Linked DNA regions of Homo sapiens: regions 1 and 2 are each linked to region 3. Evidence: promoter capture Hi-C in 16 types of primary human blood cells and fetal thymus (Javierre and others, 2016). All regions are on one chromosome and are shown on one strand. Each heading gives the region's core, a stretch centred on a gene start or on the middle of the fragment in contact. The rest is flanking DNA. Distances are from core to core; before and after follow the strand shown.

Region 1 (2,700 bases), core at 136-2,635, 450 kb before region 3:
AAGCCCTTGAACCCCGGAGATGGAGGTTGTAGTGAGCCAAAATTGCACCACTGCACTCCAGCCTAGGTGACCGAGCGAGACTCTGCCTTAAAAAAAAAAAAAAAAATGGAGGAGGAAGTCCTGCCTCCACACGAATGCACCTGGAGGGCATTATGCTAAGTGAAATAAGCCAGACACAGACAAATATCACGTGATCCTTCTTCTATGTGGAATCTAAAGTCCAGCTCACAGTAATAGGGAATAGAAGGTGGTTACCAGGGGAACAAGTCCACACAGTGCTGCGTGCATGGAGCGCAGTTGCTGAGGGGTCTGTACTGTACAAGCCAAAGGAATGAGAAAAGCTTGGTGTTCATTGCTGGGAATGAATGAGTGTCTCCAAATCCAAGGAGACACTGGGATCCTGAATAGGCTCTGGGTCGGGATGTCAAAGGCCACCAAGCTCCAGAGCCTTGCCAAGGTGGGTCACTCTTCATGACCGGGAGTGCCCATGAGCACACGTGGAGGCACTGCCTCATCTGCCACAACACCTAGCGGCTCTCTCCGATGTCTCATTGATGACCTGTGAGCTGTTTCCTCCCACATGGACCCTGGGAAAGCAAAGAATCACAAGCAGCAACGCCCTGGAAGGACCAAGGAAGACACAGCCATTGCGGTACTTCCAAGTGGGACCCTGCCTGTTCTCCCTCCTCAGGGACCTCCCATCCCTCCTAGTGGTGCTGGGCTCTACAACCTCTGCCACTAGCTCCACTCAGAGGACCCTCTCTCCATCAGAAAGTGGCGGCAGCTGTGTCCAGGTCACCAACCCCCAAACTCTGGCTCCTCGCAGTGTCTGTTCAGAATCCCAAATCTCTCAGCAGTCATTTAAGCTCTGCAGTTTTTCCGAACACTTTCAGAAGTTAGAGAACAACTTCTTCCCTTTGGCCATTAAAATGTAAGCAATTGACCTGGCACCGTGGCTCATGCCTGCAATCCCAGCAATCTGGGAAGCTGAGGCAGGAAGATCACGTGAGCCCAGGAGTTTGAGACCAGCTTGAGCAACATAGTGAGACCTCATCTCTACCAAAAATTTAAGAATTAGTTGGGTGTGGTGGCACGCACCCTTAGTCCCAGCTGCTCAGGAGGCTGAGGCAAGAGGATGGTGTGAACCCAGGAGTTTGAGACCAGTCTGGGCAACATGGCAAGACTCTGTCTTTAAAAAAAAAAAAAAACAAAAGTAACTGTACTGTGAGTGGCAAAACAGTTAAACTTCAAATATCAAAATTCAACTTCCTTCAAGTGATCTTCTCTTTAGGTGTCTGACAATGTTCTTTGGAAATTCAGGTTGAAATACAGTGACTTCTAGGGCAAAGAAAACAAGCAGAACATCCATTCCCCATATCCTAGGCACACTCATCCCTCACATGCCATTTGTTCCTCACGCCACCTCTCTGAGAGAAGGCATATCACCCCCTTCTGTGGACAGGGAAACTGAGGCTTAGAGATATTCAGAAGCTGGTCTGGATTCTAGCGCCTGTATAGAAGTGGCAGAGATGGGGCCGGGTGCAGTAGCTCACACCTGTAAACCCAGCACTTTGGGAGGCCGAGGCAGGCAGATCACTTGAGGTCAGGAGTTCGAGACCAGCCTGGCCAACATAGTAAAACCCCATCTCTACTAAAAACACAAAAATTAAGTGGGCATGATGGCACGTGCCTGTAGTCCCAGCTACTCAGGAGGCTGAGGCAGGAGAATCTCTTGAACTCGGGGAGGTGGAGATTGCAATGAGCAGAGAGTGCATCACTGCACTCCAGCCTGGCCAACAGAGAAGACTGTCGGGAAAGGGAAAGGGAAGGAAAAGGGAAGAGAAGGAAAAGGGAAGGGAAGGGAGAGAAGGAGAAAGAAGTGGCAGAGCTGCAATTCAAAGCCAAGCCTTGCCCTTTAAAACTATACACCTTCTTCCAGGGTTGGAGGCCAAAGGATTCCTCCTTTCCACCACTCCTCCTGGAGGAACATGTGTCGGTACCCAAAAGCATGCCTGCAAGGTGGAGAGACAGGGAGAGGTTCGCGTGGCACCCAGACGAGCCCCCTAATTCATGTCATTTTTCTGCATTGAGTCCTGATGATTTATTTCCCCAAGCACAGCCCAACTGAGGCTGAACCTCCTGGGCCCACGTGACCTCCTCAGCCTGGCTCCGGGAGGAGGTAGCTGAGCCGCATCTTCCCATCTGCTAGGTGTCAGGTTTTGCAGGACACCAGGCCTGAAGCTGTCCCTGGCCGTCCTCTCCCAGTCGCCCCACCCCACACCATTTCCCAGCTTCCCAGGAGGCGACAGATCCCTTGTCTGTTCCCCAGCAACGCACCCCGACCCCAAGTCTCTCCTGCCCCCAAGCAGATCCCATTCTCAGAGCACAAGGCATCCTTGGCCTTCAGCGCTGAATGCTCACAAGCTTATGTGATCAGTGTGCACACCAGCACCAGCAGCGTGCCAGGGCCAGGCATGTTGTACAAGTGAAATGCCAAGAGTGTGCTCCAGGGAGCAGCCTGGAAGGAAGCAAGAGTGACAGGGGAAGGAGCTGAGCAGGGTGTGGCATCAGGTGGAACCCAGCCAGCCCGACGCCACAGGGGGCTCTGGAGTGAGCACTGCAAGATAAAAGCAGCCTCTGCCATCAGTTAGCCAGTGACTGCTGGCTGCCCGCGGGTGGCAATGGGGGCAGTTGGGGGGG
Region 2 (2,756 bases), core at 196-2,695, 500 kb before region 3:
CCAGGGGGCTCGGCCGCAGCTGGACATGGCACCAACCTCTCTCCCTGTGGCCGTGCTCCCCTTTTCCAGTCCCATCCCTGTACTCCTTCCCTTTGCCAAAGCACTGTCCCTTCTCAGAAAGGCCAGCGGTACTAGTACAGCAGGTGCAGCCTAGCCGATCCCGGGTTGTCCCCGGTGATGGCCTCCCTCCTCCATGGGCCCCCAGGTCCCAGGCACAATCAGCTCCCCGCCTGCTGGAGAGCCAGGTGCCCAGCCTCTCCCACCAGAGATGGGGCCCAGGCCAGCCCTGGGGTGCTTTTTCCCCACCGGTGGGGCCCTGTGCGGGGGTTCTGAATGGGCCAGGCTGCTCCACTACCGCCAGCATCCCCACTCACAGACCTACTTTGCTTTCTCTAGAGGGAAGGATGTCCCCTCAGAACATCCCCTGCCAGCAGGCGCCCCCATCTTACTCTTCTTTCCCCCGTCCTTTGGGAGCAGGGGCACAGGCTTCTGGCATCCCCCAAGTGGAGCTGTTTCCACTCCTGACCCTGCATAAAAAGGGACACCAGGCAGGTTTAGAATAGATGCAGACCCAGAGGGAGGCAAGACATTACTTGAGACGGGGCAGTTTGGCTTGGGACTTATTGAGGACAATTTCTAGAAGTCTCCTATCAGACTATCTTGCACAATGAAGGCACTTGATAAATAGGCGTTGAGGTTGTTGAGGGGTGGCAAGGACAGAATGGGGAGGAGCAGCAGGACGAACACTGTCATTTCCAAAGCCAGTCATTGCATGGAAGAGCATGCTGATGTGTATGTCACCAGGCAGAAGAGGGCAGTAAGGAACACGTGTCCATGTGAAGAGACAAGAGTCATGAGCTAACGCTCATTCTGTGTTCTTGTTCACAGTTACTGTTTTGGCAGAAAACAATCACATTAAGGACTTATTGAGGAAACACGGGGTGAACGTCCAGAGTATCGCGGACATTCATCCAATTCAAGTCCAGCCGGGCCGGATTCTTAGTCACATATATGCCAAGCTTGGTAGGTTTGGGGAAATTACCTGGGCCTTTTTGGCATGGGGGCATCTCGGTTCTAGATTTGGGGTCTGAGGGAGACTGTGATATACGTAAGTTCTAAAGACTTGGACAAAAACTAAAGCAGGCGGTTCCACCGCTTCGATGTGAAGAGGAACGGGCAAACCAGCACGTTCTCACACCCGTTCAGTGGGCACCGTCACAGGTGGCCAAGCATTCGCCGGATCTGTTGTAAAATAAGGAGCCACCTTGAAAAATTTACAATTGGAAAAGTCATTTGTGTCTTGATAATGCTTCTCATGTTTACCTTTAGTATCAGAAAATGCTCATTTACACATTAAAATGGGAGGAGGTTCTCTATGCTTTTTCTACAATCTGACTTTGTTTACTATTATGGTTCAATACTAAGTAAATCGAAAGTAAATGTTCTATAGTCCTTTTAGTAGTTTTATTCCATGCAGTTCCAACTGGGTACTGTTCATATACATTCATGAAAAGAAGGGGGCGGGATTTGTTTTAATATTCAGCTTCGTGCCATTTTAAAGGATGATGGCAGTAGAAGAACCAAGCCCCAAAATGGGTTGTCTAATCTAGAAATAAGCTCAGTCTTAGCCTGAGTTGCCTGGATTACTTGTTAACCGTATTTCCTCTAACTCCAATTTATCTTTTACTTCTCAAACAGGACGGAATAAGAATATGAATTTGAGTGGGCGACCGTATCGACATATTGGTGTCCTTGGAACCTCTAAACTATATGTGATTAGGAACCAAATCTTTACTTTTACACCCCAGGTGAGGAGAGCAGGCCAACGAGCATCTTTTTTTTAAGTTCTCTTTGCTGTCTGGTAAGCTTTTCTCCTGTGAATATGACAGAATTCTGCATGCATAGGTTCAAATAGAGACATATGAAATGATACCAAGAGCCTAGTACAAGTCTGCCCGTAGTAGGTGCTCGGTAAATGCTTTTTGAGACAGGCGTGCCATCACTTCCAGTCATGAATATTAGTGAAATTCAGACTGCTTTAGAAGTTTGCTGTTGACATGTCACTTGACTCACAGCCCTTGTGCCCCTAATCACAATCATCTCTGACCCTTGTGCAAGCTGTCATCAGACCCTCTGTGTAACACACAGCCAGGCTGATTTTCTGGCCACACCCTCGCTTACTGGGATACTGAATGTACTCATGGAACTTACTGGAGAGCTTTGGTTTCCAAAGAAAACTAGTCCTGTGGAAGTACATAGAAAATATTTTTCACCCATTTGGGCAGCTAGAAAGACCAACAGTGGGATCGCTTTGGCAGTGCAGGGCACAATCCCTGCTTACCTGGGCACAGGGTTGGTCATGGGGTCTTGGGTCAAGCTGCTGTTTCATCCTAGCCCCTGCTGCTCACAGAAAGCTTGTGAGCTATTTCCCTTAGTAGCAAATTTCAGTCCAGAGCTGAGCATGCACTAGTCCAGAGGCCAAGAGAACAGTTTGATTTGTTCTCAACATCAGGCAGCAGTGTCTTTAGTTGACATTAACCAAAGCCATCAATCAGGTAAACAGAGTGTCCACCTCCCACCTGCTCACAGTGCCCCCACTTGGAAAGCATCTTCGAACCCATAGCCCTGGAAGGATCAGGAATTAAGGAGTTATTGATTTGCTTTCAGAGACAGCAGTGTTGGGCAAGATGCTTAAATCCCCATCTGAGGAGCTGGAAATAAATCTAGCAGTGCACCTTTCCCTTCCACCCTACAGC
Region 3 (2,700 bases), core at 22-2,521:
ACCCTACAGCAAGAAAGAAACAAGCTGGAAATGTTCCAGCAGATGTTACCTAAAACGATAATCCTGTTCTATACACATCTCTGTCTCCTGTTTCTGACAAACGCTCTCAGACAAATTAATTTGTGTAATCTTTTACATTAACTATATAACCATTACGTTCAAACAAACCTAATTCAGATGCACAGAAAGAAATCATTCGGTGTCAACAATACTTTCTAAAATCAGCTTAAATTCCAGCCAATTAAAATAGATTGTGCTAACAGAATACTGATCTGCAACTACTTAAATATCACAGCACCCGTCTAATCTCACTGTAGAGATACTAAGGTCAGGCTTTTCTTATTCAGGCATCTGTTCTTTAACACTCAAATGAAGCGAAAAACAAAACCCTCAAGGAAGATCTGCCTTTACACTGAAATATGTTCAGGTTATTTTTTTCCCCAACGTGGGCACAAAACGTGTCAATGCAAGGAGGACCTGTTCGTTCTGGGAGACGGTTCCAAATCCCAGAATCCGATTTCTATGAGGGTCCAAAAGGTATGAAGGTCTGAGAAGGGGCCATTCTTCTTCCCCGCACTATGCCAGTCGTGAACTTCACAGCATCGCCTGAAACTTGTCCGGGGGAGGTTGCGGAGCCGCGGGGCCGGCGCCCGGTCGCTAGCCCACCCTCGCGGGCAGCCAAGGTCAGAAGGGCCCGGGCCGCGACTGACGGCCCCTGGCGAGTCTCGGGCTCCCTCCGAACTCGGGCAGGGGGCTGGGGCGCGCAGGCCCCTCCTCGGCGCCGGCGGGAAGGGGCTTACCTCGCCGCAAGCCCCGGGGAGCTCGTGCCGCGGGAGCGGCGGGGCGGGGACGCCGCAGACCCGCCGCTGAGGGGAACCCCGCGGGGCGGGCTCGACCCGCCGCCCCTCTTTCACACCCTTTCGCCTCCCCACACCCCAAAAGACAGCCCCAGCCCCTCGGGGGAAGCCCTTCCAGAGGCGCAGGGGAGCGCTGAGGAGGGGCTACTCCGGGCTGGGACGTCCTCACCGCGTCGCCCCGTTCCGGGGGAACCGGCGCCCCCGCCCCTTCTCTTGTCCGCCCGGGGGGACTGGGTGGGTCTCCACTCTCAGGAGAAGCTGGGTGGACGCGGGGCCGATGTAAGGGTAAGAAGGCTTGGCGGGCGGGTGGCGGCGCGACTACTCACCCCGCCGAGTCCCCCACTTCTAGCAGGGGACCCCACAGCTCCTGAGGACGCCGTCGCCGCTTTACCTTCCCCAGCGGCAGAGACAACTAATCGAAACCTCCGGCCCCGCCCTCTAGCAGAAGCGAACGCGCAGCCTATTTTGCTAACTGCCCCGCCCCAGCCGGCCCGTTCGGACCAATGGGAAAGCACCTCAGGTTTTGCCCGATCCCGCCTTTACCCCGCCCCCTTCTGGTAGGAGCCAATGAGGAGGAAGCGCTTGTCCTGGGGTTCGGGCTCGCGCCGCTCGTGCTCGAGTCTCCGAAGCCGAAGAACGCTGGTTCCTTATACAAGCTCGCCTGCGCGCTCACGCGCGCGCCGCGCCTCCTGGCACGCCAGGTTTGGTTGCCCCGCCAAGCCCTAGCAACCTGGGCTGGAGAGGCTGAGAGGGGCGGGGCCCGAGCCTGGAGTCGACGCCGGGGGGTAGAGCGGGGAAGCAGGGAGAGGGTCGACGGTGGTGGGGTGGGGAGATCGTGACTGAGAAAGGGGTGGCTGCGGGGGTAGGAGGTGGCGAGGAGGCCCCGGAATCCGCCTGTCACTGCGGAAAAAAGAGGGAATCCTGCCTGCAGCGCAGCTACCCTGCCCTCCCTCCGGAGGGACCCGTGCCGGGGGCTGGGGTGGGGGAAGTCGGAGAAGAGGGGGAGAACATACTCGGGGCGGGAGCTGAGAAATACAGGATGGAGGATGGTTTATCTCTGTTGTTGGTAAAAATGATATCGAAGTCCATTGCTGCTGCTGCCCAACTGTTGCCGCTGCGTGTGCACACACACACGCACATATGCACACACACAACACACACTCACACGTACACTCATCCAGCAGCTTGCGGTCCCTTGGGTGAGTTAGGCGCAAAGACCTAGCAGCCTGAGGATTCCTTACACAGCAGCTGGGCGCGTGCAAAGAGCTGTTGCAGCAGTAGCAGCAGCAGCAGCAGCAACGACCCACACCTCCGCTTCGGTCCGATGCTCTGCCACACAAGATCCCCCAGCTGGCTTGAAAGCAATGAAGTCATCGCCCAACCAGTACAAATGTAAAGATCTTAATACCCACCATGGATCGGGTTTCCAAGGAGGATGAAGAGGTGATGAAATTGAAGGAGATAACATTTCCAATGCTACTTTTAGAAAATAAAGAAAAAAAATTTTTTTAAAAAGACATTGGGGACAAATCTATGGAAAGCTGCATAATTATTTTCGCTTTAACAAGCAAAGGAGAAAAATAGGGTCTCTTCTGGTTAGGAAAAGCACGGAAAATAGGCAGTGTATGAGGTCATAGCTGCCACCAAATTAGAAAGATGCAGTACTGTAATAGGAAATAGATATTTGGGATAAAATCCACTTAATCTATTCCTGTAGTGAATCTGGTAACAATATGTAGCAGCATGCTCAGTTTGGCCACTTGATACCAAGCCAATAGGATTTTCTTTTTCATAACGGTGAATATTTGATGAGGAAATGAAAGTGGAAGCATATTAGAAAATT

Evidence for each region. The method cuts DNA at HindIII sites, captures the fragments that hold promoters and counts their contacts. A CHiCAGO score of 5 or more calls a contact.
Region 1: a contact is called between a fragment that was not itself captured here and the fragment with the promoter of CDKL5 in region 3, in 1 of 17 cell types (total B cells). The highest score is 5.3, in total B cells.
Region 2: a fragment that was not itself captured here is called in contact with the fragment with the promoter of CDKL5 in region 3 in 1 of 17 cell types (non-activated CD4 T cells); the score reaches 5.3 in non-activated CD4 T cells.

Annotation. Positions count from the first base shown.
Region 1 is chrX:18,875,190-18,877,889 of GRCh38, reverse strand. No RefSeq gene overlaps it. Among named protein-coding and RNA genes, the nearest start is that of PHKA2-AS1, 14 kb to the left of the region's middle. The HindIII fragment of the contact is 2,083 bases long and covers 344-2,426 here.
Region 2 is chrX:18,924,720-18,927,475 of GRCh38, reverse strand. It overlaps PHKA2 (phosphorylase kinase regulatory subunit alpha 2), which reads left to right. Exons shown (of 33, transcript NM_000292.3): 14 at 889-1,023; 15 at 1,699-1,808. Among named protein-coding and RNA genes, the nearest start is that of PHKA2-AS1, 36 kb to the right of the region's middle. The HindIII fragment of the contact is 847 bases long and covers 1,022-1,868 here.
Region 3 is chrX:18,424,179-18,426,878 of GRCh38, reverse strand. It overlaps CDKL5 (cyclin dependent kinase like 5), which reads right to left and starts at 1,271. Exons shown (of 18, transcript NM_001323289.2): 1 at 1,184-1,271. RefSeq lists a silencer at 951-1,020 and an enhancer at 1,356-1,650. The HindIII fragment of the contact is 7,790 bases long and covers 1-2,700 here.